Linked DNA regions of Homo sapiens: regions 1 and 3 are each linked to region 2. Evidence: promoter capture Hi-C in 16 types of primary human blood cells and fetal thymus (Javierre and others, 2016). All regions are on one chromosome and are shown on one strand. Each heading gives the region's core, a stretch centred on a gene start or on the middle of the fragment in contact. The rest is flanking DNA. Distances are from core to core; before and after follow the strand shown.

Region 1 (3,951 bases), core at 1,369-3,868, 1.0 Mb before region 2:
GAATCTGTCCCTGAGAACGATCCATGAGAGCAAGAACACAAAAGCTTTGTTGCAGCAGAACAACACGGAGACATCCGTAGTGTTTATTTTCTTTATTGCATGTAAGTACAGGTAGTTTGTGAGTGTCCAAAGAACACCAAAGGGTGCTGCCTTGGTAAAAAACACCTTCAAAGTCAAGCCATTGTCTCCAAAAAATCGACAGCATTCCCTAAAACAAGGAAAGAGAGGCATCGTTATTATTTTCCTGGGTTCAGACAGACCATTTATTTCCTATAGCAAGTTTTTTTTTTTTTAAGCAAATATAGGAAGGGGCAGGGTTTTAAAATTTATTATTTTTAATAAACATCTTTCTATTAAAGCCCTTCAACCTATTGCTTTAGTCCACTGAAACAAATGTTGCACAGTGATCTAATGTCACAGATTCTTCCTTCTGTTCATGTTAAGCTTGGAATTTATGGTTCTATACAGAAGGTAATGTTGGTGTGTTATCTGACCCGAAGGCCTAATTCTATGGTGATTGACTGAGGGATTCTGTCACTTGCTGAGTAAGAGAAGGGGGTCACTAAACCTTTTTTGGGGTGGGGGTTGTGGGAGAAGGACGGTAATGGAGGAGGATGGATACTCTGGGGGTGGGGGTTGTGGGAGAAGGACGGTAATGGAGGAGGATGGATACTCTGGGGGTGGGGGTTGTGGGAGAAGGACGGTAATGGAGGAGGATGGATACTCTGGGGAAGACAGGGTGTCTAATCTTTTGGCTTTTCTGGGTCACATTAGAAAAAGAATTGTCTTAGGCCACATACAAACTACACTAACACTAACGATAGCTGATGAGCTACAAAAAGAAATCGCAAAAAAAAAAATCTCATAATGTTTTAAGAAAGTTTACAAATTTGTGTTGGGCCTCATTCAAAGCCAGCCTGGACCACATGTGGCCTGTGGGACGGGGGTTGGACAAGCTTGCTCTAAGAGAACACATTGAAACATAGTTTTAAAAAATGTTGCCCTCAGTTGGAATTATCTTTGTGATCAGGCAGGGGCAGTCACTTCTTGGGTATATCTAATACATTTTGGCTATGATACAAATAGTGTTAACTCGTGACCTATTTTCTCCCTGAGGCCATTTTTAGGGTACCTATTCCACCATGTGGAAGCCCCACTTCTCTAAGACACTATCTAGCACAGGAAGAATAAGCAGATCCAAAAGTTCAGAGTCTAACGCGGGAATGAGATGAGGAAACATCTGTAGAAGAAAGTCTTTTGATGCCGTTCTAGAGTCTAGGGGGAAGGATCACAGATAGTTCAAAAAATCTTTAAGAAAATTAAAGCCAGTCTTCTACATGCAGAAGAAGGAAGTAGAGGAGGCCGTGGGGAGCTCGGGTGTGGAGAAAGGCCACTGAGAAGGCTTGGTTGACAGCTGCCTCTTTCCTTGACTGTTGGGGAGTGAAGATCATTGCTGGGTTGGGCCCGATGAGCTAGGCAAGGAGATGGACAAGTGAGGAGGCACTGCTTCATGGAAGTCCCTGTCCAGGCTCATGGACATGGTGCTGCACTGCCACAGCTGGGGATGGCCTGCCAGCCAGGAAGGGAGTCAGCCTGCTAGTGATCTAGAAATAGACTCAGTCCCAAATGAACTGCCACGAGAACAAAAGAAAAGACATCTCTAGAATAAACCAAATGCACTAGGTTGGGGGAATAGCTCTGGTCTGTGCCACTTAATATTAAAATGCAGAGAAAAAGGAGGAAAATTAAAAACAAGAGTCAAAGGGGATTGGGTAAGATTTTAAATTTAATTTTACTGTCTAGTCTTCCTATCAATCTAGAAGGAAATCTGTCTTTGTTCATGACTCAACTATGGGATGTCCATAGCAGGAACAGGAAAACTCCTTAGAGAAAGGCATGAGAGCCTGGGATATTGAGAGAGGAGAAACACACTTACCGTTTTGTGGAGTCTGGTGCAGTTTGGCCACCTCTCTCTGTACACAGAGTCCTATGTTGCTTCTGAACAAACCGGGGCCAGGTAAAACATTCACTTCACTAAATTTATCATGAAACCGATTCAACTGAATTGATTCCATTTTGGCTTTATATAGCTGCAACCCTCATCTAACTGAGAGGCTGATATTTCTGTTTGCCATGTAATTTTCATACAATATTCCAGCTACATTTTCTATGGGGTTTTCCCAAGCCCCTGTTTGCAGAACAGTCTGTTCCCCCAGGGGCAGTGACCGTGAATGATGGCTTCCTTTATGTTTGTGATTATGGTGGCTACAAAGTGATGCTGGTCCATTGAGTATGACCAAAATAAAATACAAATATTCTTTCTGGCCATTAATGTCAATCTATCTCCACTATACTTAGAGGTTTCCCTTTCTAAGAGAAGAACATCATGCAAGCAGAATTTCCAAGTTCCACCTGGCTCACTGTCATGAAAAACAATTCATCTTCTGGAAGGGGCCATCCAAGGCTAACTGGGCAACCTACTTCCTCTTTGAAAATCCATATTTGACTCCTCCAAAGCCTGATCATTGTAGATGGGATGGAGAAGGGAGGTAGGGCACAGATATGGCTTGGTATTGATGGCCCAAGTTGCTGGAAATGGGGAGAGAGTGGGGATCCCATCCTGGAGATGAAAAAGGTGAGACTCTGAGGCCTGGCAGAGTCCTGCTGGCCCTTTAAGGCCTCATGGCCAGGAGATCACAGCTTAGGTTGGTAGGTCTTGGTTCTAATGAGACCAAGACAATTGGCCCCCTGGACTGGTGAGCTTTGTGATATTTTGAGACCAAAGACTATGCACTAATCTTCAGTGCTAAGAGATTAGCGCACAGTCTTCGGTCTTAAAATAGCATAATATTGGCCGGCAGCGGTGGCTCACACCTGTAATCCTAGCACTTTGAGAGGCCGAGGCGGGTCAGCTGAGGTCAGGAGTTTGAGACAAGCCTGGCCAACATGGTGAAACCCTGTCTCTACTAAAAATTCAAAAATTAGTCAGGCATGGTGGTGAGCACCGGTAATCCCAGCTACTCGGGAGCCTGAGGCAGGAGAATCACTTGAACCCGGGAGGCGGAGGTTGCAGTGAGCTGAGATTGCACCATTGCACTCCAGCCTAAGTGACAAGAGTGAAACTCCATCTCAAAAAACAAACAAACAAAAAAACCCAGCACAATATCTCAGGATCTGGCTGGCCCATGTACGTCCTTGATTGCAAGGGAACCCAAGACAGATGATGAACATGAATCCATTTCTGCCAGAGACCTCCCTCTTCTTGGTATACAAATGGAGCACAGTCAACACTCTCTTGACTGACGCCCACATTACTGACGGGACAGTCTAACACCCTTCATTCCTTCTGCTCACTGATGCTGCTGGCAGGCTTAAGACTAGAGGGTGGCAGGTTACTTCCAGAACACTCAAGTCCTTCTGTTCCTATGGATTGAGTCACATACAAAGATTAGATGTATTTACTTCTGATCCTGCTTGTGCCAGTTAGCTGTTCTTGGTATTTCAATTACACGGTTTAATTAAGTATTTCATAAACCAATGAAATATGAGTGGGAAACGAAAACTTTTTTTCCATGAAATCTAAATTGAGAGCTTCAAGAAAGACTTAATAAAAATAAGCAATACTAGGCTGGGGGTGGTGGCTCACGCCTGTAATCCCAGCACTTTGGGAGGCCAAGGTGGGTGGATCACAGGGTCAGGAGATCGAGACCAGCCTGACCAACATGGTGAAACCCCATTTCTACTAAAAACACAAAAAAATTAGCCAGGCATGGTGGTGCGCGCCTGTAGTCCCAGCTACTTGGGAGACTGAGGGAGGGGAATCGCTTGAACCTGGAAGGCGGAGGTTGCAGTGAGCCAAGGTGGTGCCACTGCATTCTAGCCTGGTGACAGAGCAAGACTCTGTCTCAAAAAAAAAAAAAAAAAAGCAATACTGCTACTGAATATTTAATT
Region 2 (3,946 bases), core at 767-3,266:
ACTTTGTATGGCCCAGGAGACTGACCTTTGCTTATCTCATTAAGTTTCCTACTGTTCCGTTTCTCCCATTCCCAGCCCTACCTTCCAGACATGTTAGACTATCCTGACATTTTCCCCAAATTGCCATGCTCCTCTTTCCACATATACATGTGCCTGGAGAACTATTCCCACTTACATGCCTTGAGAGCTAATATTTAGCTTTAAGACCCAGTTCCCTGGTGCTTATTGACACCACCCCTCCCTCACAGACTTACACATGTCTTCTGCACTCCACAGTGCCCCAGTGCTTCCATATATCTGGATATGTGTCCATTTCTACAATATGATAACAGGCAGCACATTTTATTGCAAGTCTTTGATTTTCCTGCCTCCTCTTGTGGTTTATTAACTCCTTCATGGTAGGGACTATATTTGACTTACATTTGCTTTCTTAGTCTTCTGCAAAATGCTTGACACCCAGAAGGTGTTGAGTAAATATTTGATGAATCAGGACAAGTGAACAAGGACACAACCTCCATGTGGGAACAGACTGTTGCATGACCTTTCCTCCTATACCCATGCACGTGACGGCGCTCCTTTAATGTGGAGTTGATTGGTTGATTAACCCATTAAACACTTATACAGCACCTGGTAGGTTACAAGCATTTTGAGCAGATATACAAAAAAGCCCATTTGTTTACAAGCTGTGTCTTTAAGAAAATTACTCTTCCAGTACAGAAAGCAGCCATATTCCATTTTGATGATTCATTCCTACTGATGAATGTAAAGTAGAAGGAAGAGTGGTTATAGCTGATGGCAGACACACCATAGTGAGGCTTTTGCTGTAACTCAGTGGCCTTTCATGTCCTGGGCCCTCTCCTCATGATGGGCCTGTCCTTATCTTCGTTTCAGCCTGGGAAGGCTGGTGTGCCTTTACTGGGCCTGACTAGGGCAGCCATAAGTAAGTGCTGCTGCAGACCAGAACATGGCCAGGACACAGGCAGGCACACAAGTCAGAGGAGTGTGATGTGTTGGGACAGACCAGGTAAGGATGATGCAGGGAAGGCGTGTTGGGAATCATGGAGCCCTCTAATCTTTGTCTCTCCCTAAGGCTCTAGCTCACACAGGGCTTCTGCTCCTCATCCCAAAGGAAGACAAGCTCCTTTTTATCTCTTCCCTTTCCAAAACCCACTCTCAAAAGAGAATCTAAACTGTATCCACTGTAAATGATAAAATATATAATAGCTTAAAGATTATTAATTTTTTGTCCAGTGGGTCTTCCTGTCTAAACAGCATAGAGAGATTTAGACTAATGTTCTATATAGCCAGTTAAATACCTGGGATTATGTTCTAGGAAAGAGATAAAAAACTAAGGCTAACTGAAGCTCCTAAAATTTTATCAGGAAGGTGGTTATCTTCTTTCTCCACCAAGTTGGACAACAGGGAGTGGAGGAGAAACAGTCAGGGAGGACAGAAGATCAGTGGCAGAGGACCAGGTAGAGCTTAGATTAATAGAACGTCTGGGGTCAGCCCTTAATTAAGGAGAATGAAGTCGTGCAGGAAGTGCTCAGGAGAAGAAATTACTTTGAGTGCTGTGTGACAGGACCTTGTATGAGGTAAATACTTGGGTGCAAAAAAGGACAAGGACAAGGAACGTGTCCTGGGTCTGTGCCTTCTGCATGAGAACACCCTTGCACGTCCCCTAACAGGAGGATCAGAGAGAAGGGGAAGGGAAGAGGGGAGAGGCAAAAAAAAAAAAGAAAGAAAGAAAGAAAAAAAGAGCGAGAAAGAAAGAGAGAGAGAGAGAGAAAGGAAGGAAGGAAGGAAGAAAGAGAGAGAGAGGGAGGGAGGAGGAAGGAAAAAGAGAGAGAGAAAGAAAGAGAGAAAAAGAGAAAGAGAGAAAGAAAAGGCTGGAGGCACTCACAGAAATCCTTCTGGCCCCCAGCGAAGGCTAAGGAGGGACTGGGCGGGCGTTGGGAGGAGCCTCGGAAGCAACCTCTGAGCAGCCGCCTCTGAGCACGATGGGAAAATCCTTCCTCCCTCGGACATGGCGCTCACCTGCCCGGCCGCAGCAGCCGGCTCCGGCGCCGCGGTTCGCGGGTCCGGGCGGAAGAGCAGCTCCAGCTTCAAACGTGGGGTGGAAGGAGGCGGCGGGGGCGACGGCGGCGGCGACGGCGGGGGCGCGGCCCGCGGGCCCGGGTGTTAGACCTGAGGGAGCCTGGAGATCCGGCCGGGGCGCGCAGGGTGCAGCGGGGCGCTCACCAGCCCCGGGGCGCAGCCGGCATGGTGTCCCAGGTGCTGCAGCTGCTCCGGCAGGGCGTGTGGGCCGCGCTCACCGGGGGCTGGTACCACGACCCGGAGCAGAGCAAGTTCACCAACAGCTGCCACCTCTACCTGTGGCTGTTCCTCCTGCTGCTGCCCCTGGCCCTGCACCTGGTGAGTGGGGAGGGTCCGGTCCCGGGGAGCTGTGGGTATGGAGGGAAGAAGGAGAAAGGAACCACAGACGTGCCATCAGCCTCACGGGCTTTCGGGTTCGTAGAGATTCTTAAGAGACGGAAAGGGAGGGGCTTCAGAAATTTGGGACAGAGAACATGCAGGGAAAGGGGACTGTGAGGATTCACTGGAAAAGAAAAGAAGTAGACAGGACTGCGGGGGCTCGGGGACTCATTAAGAATTGATGCCGGATGTTAGGATGAGTCACTCTGCTTGTGGCAGGGAGCGTGCAGCCTGTTTTGTAGGTGGGTAACTCTAGGCCTTAGAGCTGGGTAGCTTGGGATAATGTTTGGTGTGAAATGCTGTAGATTGTAGCCAAGAGGAAAAACGAAATGTAAAAAGCAGACTCATTTCAGTTATTGTCCCCTTTTTCCCCCCTCACCTTCTTTCTTGTTTTGCTTTGAGAAGGCAGTTCAGTTATCAGTTACTCACATTGTAATTTCTACACCACTATGTATAGAAATCTGTAGGAAGATATAATAATGGATAAATCTAATGTACTTTATGCTAAACAAAGTATTACAACATTTAGATGGGGCTTGACATTTTAGTGGGGTTATGGTAAGTGAGTGCTTGCTGAAGAACTACATAGATGGCCTTCTTAGGTAAATTATACGTAATTAAAACAATGGTTTACCTGCTTTGAAAAGCTGTACAGGTAAGGTGTTCCATGTCTTATTAAACTTTACGTGCCAAGAATCTAATTTTGGTATGTCGGTTGGAGGACTTTATTCCTAACACATTATTTGATCATTTTTTTTACAGCAAAAATCGTCAATGAGTTTGCATGACTGATGGATTCCGAGTTTGACATTTGTGATTGGGTTTCTCTTTACTCTTTTTCCGGCAGTGTATCCAAAGGGTCAGAACTCTGGGTGTGAAGTCATGATGCCTAGGTTAAATTTTGGGTCTACTGGTTACCAGTTCTGTGACCTTGGGGAGGTTATTTACCATATCTCATTTTTCATTTTCTTATCTGTAAAATGAGAAAAAGTAATAGTACCAGATTTACAGATTGTTTTAGGGATTAAATGAGATAGTACATATAAAGCCACAGGTCTGTCTTGACCTGAGATTGGACTCAGGCCTTGGGTTTACAATTCTGTTCTGCTACTTATTAGCTGTTTGGTCTGATACTGAACTTTTCTAAAACTTAGCATTCATATCATTAAAACGGATGTGATCATCACAATCACCACTTCACAGAAAAATTAACCAAAATTATATATAAAAAGCATTAAATACAGAAACTGCTTGGAAACCCTGCAATAAATGCAAGTTTATTTCTTCTTTCTGATTCTCCGCACCATTTTTCTTAACCCATTTTTCCTTAGCCTATGGGCCCCAGTGGTTTCTCTTTTCCTAGAGGGACAGCATAGCAAAGTCATGAGGAGCACAGCCCTCACCAGGGTGAAATCCTGGTTCTGCTGCTCACTAGACCTAATATGAGCTTGAGCAAGCTTCACCTTCCTTG
Region 3 (4,120 bases), core at 1,290-3,789, 1.0 Mb before region 2:
CCTCTATTTCACGAAGGATTTTTTTTTTTTTTTTTTTTTTTTTTTCCGAGATAGAGTCTCACTCTGTCACCCAGGCTGGAGTGCAGTGGTACAATCTCAGGTTACTGCAACTTCCACCTCCTGGACTCCAGTGATCCTCCCATCTTAGCCTTTTGAATAGCTGGGACCACAGGGGCATACCACCACACCCACCTAATTTTTGTATTTTTTGTAGAGACGGGGTTTCACAATGTTGCCCAGGCTGGTCTCGAACTCCTGGGCTCAAGTGATCCACCCACCTTGGCCTCCCAAAGTGCTAGGATTACAGGCGTGAGCCACCGTGCCCATCTAGGAAGGACCATTTTATATTCAGTCTTTCCTGGGCCCCTAGTGCAAACTCAAACACCAAACAGGCCCCTTGCAATATTCAACATAGACAACAGGTGTGACAAGGATTTCCATAGAAAATGGGGAAACTGAACCCATGTGCTGGTTTCTGGAAGTCTGAGGATACAGAGCTCACATTAAATAGGACCATCTCTATTCTTGGCCTGGTTTCTGGAAGTCTGAGGATACAGAGTTCACATTAAAAAGGACCATCTCTATTCTTGGCCGTTTGATAACACTTTCATGAATCTTAGTATTTTGGGGCAAAATACTAGGATCATTCTGGATGTGATAGGTAACCTGAATCATGATTTGACAGGATCCTGGGAGGATTCTATGATGGTTGATCATGGGCCATGGCTGATACCTAAGCAGCTCACTTTTCACTGTCAGGGAGAGTTGACAGGACTACAACTCTGTTACAAATTATGTTTAATTATTTTGAAAGTTTAAAAAAGTCAATAAACATTTATATTTTACTGTTTGTATGGGATTCTGCTGTGTGCCTAGGGAAATAGAATAAGAAGCACAAAGCAAGATTTTCTTTTCCTTTCAAGGATATTTACATCTAGAAGGGGAGGTAAGTCTTCACTCTAGTGTAAGGCAGAAGAGACAGAGAAATTGTGGCAGTGGGGAGTGTCACCAAGTAGGAATATTAATTCTTGTGGGGAGAATGAGGAAGTTTCATTAAGGAGGAAACATGTATAGTAGATATTTCAGGACATGTAGGGTTTGGTTAGGCAGAAAGAGAGGGAAGGGGAGGAAGGATCCCATGTGGAATAAACCATGTTACCAGGACAAGAGAGGATAGGATATATTAGAGAAATAGTGAACAGTCCTATGTGGTTGGAGGGCAGGAGACAGTGGTAGTTGCAGTGACACATGAGTTGGAAAGGTCACCAACTGCCAAATTATGGAGGGCCTTGAGTCCAGGGTAGGGAATGAAGGTTTATTTAATAAAGTACAGGAAGCTACTCAAGATCTTTGCATAAGAAAGTGAAGCAATCCCAGCTCAACAGGGTGTAGAGAATGATCAGGAGACTGACTATGCCCTAGGTGGTGTGTCCTGGGGTATAAAGTAGGGTGGTGGTAGAGGAGAGGCTTCTAGAGATGCTTTGCAGTTATAATGAAACTGCCTTGGAGTGTATGGCACAGTGATTGCTAGTGTAGGAGTAAGGAAGAAGTTAAAGACCAGTATTAAGATTTTATGCTTGGGAAAATAAGATAATCATGATGCCAATTCACATCAATAGGTTAAGAAGGAGGAATAGGTTTTTGAGTGAGATAATTGTGTGTTTAGTTTTGGACATGTTAAGATGGAGGGGTTGCTAGGATACATTGGGAGGAATGTCTGGAAGATAGTGAAAAACTCAGATTTGAAGTTTGGCAGAGAAGATTTGAAAGTGATTTTCAAAGAGGTAAAAATTAAAGACACAAAACTGCATGAAAATGAGGGTGAATGTGGCCTTGGATGGAAAGGGATGGACACCCCCATGTGATGGGAGTAGACAAAGGAGAGACTGGGAGAGGGGGAAACAGGGAGAGTGGGAGAGATATTGTAGAATGAGAACCAGAGAAATACAGCCACAACCCTGGCTGACACGCTCTTGCTCAAGCTTGGCAGCCCTGCCGTGATGATGATGCTGGTGATGATGATGTAAATGCTATCACTGATTGAGCAACTACTTATGTCTAGAGATTGTGCTAAGCTTCTATATGTATGACTTTGTTTTACTTTGACAACCTTGTATGGCAGAGTTGATTATTAGCCTCATATTACAGGTGAGAAAACTGAGACTCAGAGATGTCAAGTGACTTGACCAAGGAGATAAAACTATAAATGGTAGAGCTGGGCTTTGAATCCAGTTCTATCTGCTTGCAAATTTCATTTTATTAACCATTGCACTGTTCTGTCATACCACTGCACCTGAATCTGGAGAGATTTCTATTTTTAAGAATTTGAAAACAAAGATTATCAACTAAGGAAAAGAGACTAACTTCTAGAAACACATAGATGATAAAGTGGGCATCAGTGTGTGCTGAATTCATCCAGGTGTGAGATCAAATGATATATTTTTGGTGTGAAAATTCATTCTAAATGAAAAGACTATGCACTGTTCTCTTTCTCTTTCTTTCTCAGAGTTTCACTCTGTTGCCAGGCTAGAGTGCAGTGGCACAATCTTAGCTCACTGCAGCCTCAATCTCCTGGACCTTCCTTGGCCTCCCAAAGTGTTGGGATTACAGGCATGAGCCATGTGCCTGGCCAAACCTCCATTTCTGATTGTTCAGGGAGTGAGGGTGGCTGCGTACATTATTTGTCGACCTAGGATTTAGAAATATGGACAAGTGTGCATGACCCACAGTGAACGCTTCAGAGGATGAGAGGTGAGTCATTGAGTCCATGGGGAGCTGACGGGACTTTGTCTGGCTGTGTGAAAGCACTTTCTCTCAGCTAAAAAGGAAATTAAATGCTATCAGAAAATTGAGATAAAATTTAGATAAAAGTAACCCATAGAACCTGTGATGTAATAATGGCCTTGGGACAGTCAAATCTGGGGGGGCAGTTAAATGTCCAAATGTACTTTGGACTTTAAGGTGGTGCTAGTGGTAAGATTTGAATTTTTTAAATTAAGCTTTGGAGAAAAACACCATGGTCAACCTAAGAGGTAACTCTTGGCGGGGCGCCGTGGCTCACGCCTGTAATCCCAGCACTTTGGGAGGCCGAGGCGGGCGGATCATGAGGTCAGGAGATCAAGACCATCCTGGCTAACACGGTGAAACCCTGTCTCTACTAAAAATACAAAAAATTAGCCGGGTGTTGTGGCGGGCACCTGTAGTCCCACCTACTCTGGAGGCTGAGGGAGGAGAATGGCGTGAACCCAGGAGGCAGAGCTTGCAGTGAGCCGAGATTGTGCCACTGCACTCCAGCCTGGGCGACAGAGCGAGTCTCCGTCTCAGAAAAAAAAAAAAAAAAAAAAAAGAGGAAGAGGTAACTCTTGCAATAGGGGAATGAAGAAAGTCGCCAGATTGCACCTTGATGATTATATGTCTGTTTCTAAATGATATCATTTAAAAGAGGTAGTGATTATTGTATGGTGATTAGTTTACAGGGATCATTTATTTAAACAAATAGCAATAGTCTAATTGGTGGGAAAGAGATACTAATCAAAAACAACACAGTAAATGTGGCAAACGCACACACATACGCACACATGGTATCTTTGAGGAAATTCAACATACGGGACAGGACCATACAGCAAGCTACCGACACTGCACACATAATTGCAAAATCCTAAAAAGGTGCTAGACTCTCAGCCTCCCCACAAGGAAGACATGCCGGAAATTCAATTTTTCACCATGTGAATGAAAGCAGATAACAGAGGGAAAGCAGGAGCACTGGGGGAATAGCTATATCTAGTTGGTGTGACAGGGTTTACAGTTCCCATCAATGAAGATGCCAAAAGAGAGTGGTCTGAGGACAAAATAAAATTAGTTTAAAAAGTTATACTCTAATCCTTGATAAACAGGTATAAATTAAAAAAAGAGCACCACTGTGATGCACGGATAGGTTTTCTTTTATTTATTTATTTATTGAGACGGGGTTTCACCATGCTGCCCAGGCTGGTCTTGAACTCGAGCTCAAGTGATCCACCCACCTCTGCCTCCCAAATTGTTGGGATTACAGGCATGAGCCACTGCATCCAGCTGGGTTTCTTTTTTTATTTTACTTTGTTTTATTTTTTTTGAGACAGGG

The links. The method cuts DNA at HindIII sites, captures the fragments that hold promoters and counts their contacts. A CHiCAGO score of 5 or more calls a contact.
Region 1: a fragment that was not itself captured here is called in contact with the fragment with the promoter of PCNX2 in region 2 in 3 of 17 cell types (naive B cells, total B cells and total CD8 T cells); the score reaches 7.4 in naive B cells.
Region 3: a contact is called between a fragment that was not itself captured here and the fragment with the promoter of PCNX2 in region 2, in 1 of 17 cell types (total CD8 T cells). The highest score is 5.7, in total CD8 T cells.

The regions. Positions count from the first base shown.
Region 1 is chr1:234,305,358-234,309,308 of GRCh38, reverse strand. It overlaps SLC35F3 (solute carrier family 35 member F3), which reads right to left. Exons shown (of 8, transcript NM_173508.4): 4 at 1-208. MIR4671 (microRNA 4671) reads right to left here and starts at 2,842; the gene lies at 2,770-2,842. The HindIII fragment of the contact is 3,319 bases long and covers 959-3,951 here.
Region 2 is chr1:233,293,795-233,297,740 of GRCh38, reverse strand. It overlaps PCNX2 (pecanex 2), which reads left to right and starts at 2,016. Exons shown (of 34, transcript NM_014801.4): 1 at 2,016-2,415. The coding sequence starts at 2,263. RefSeq lists a silencer at 1,921-2,300 and an enhancer at 2,581-2,630. The HindIII fragment of the contact is 4,266 bases long and covers 1-3,934 here.
Region 3 is chr1:234,329,606-234,333,725 of GRCh38, reverse strand. No RefSeq gene overlaps it. Among named protein-coding and RNA genes, the nearest start is that of MIR4671, 25 kb to the right of the region's middle. The HindIII fragment of the contact is 924 bases long and covers 2,078-3,001 here.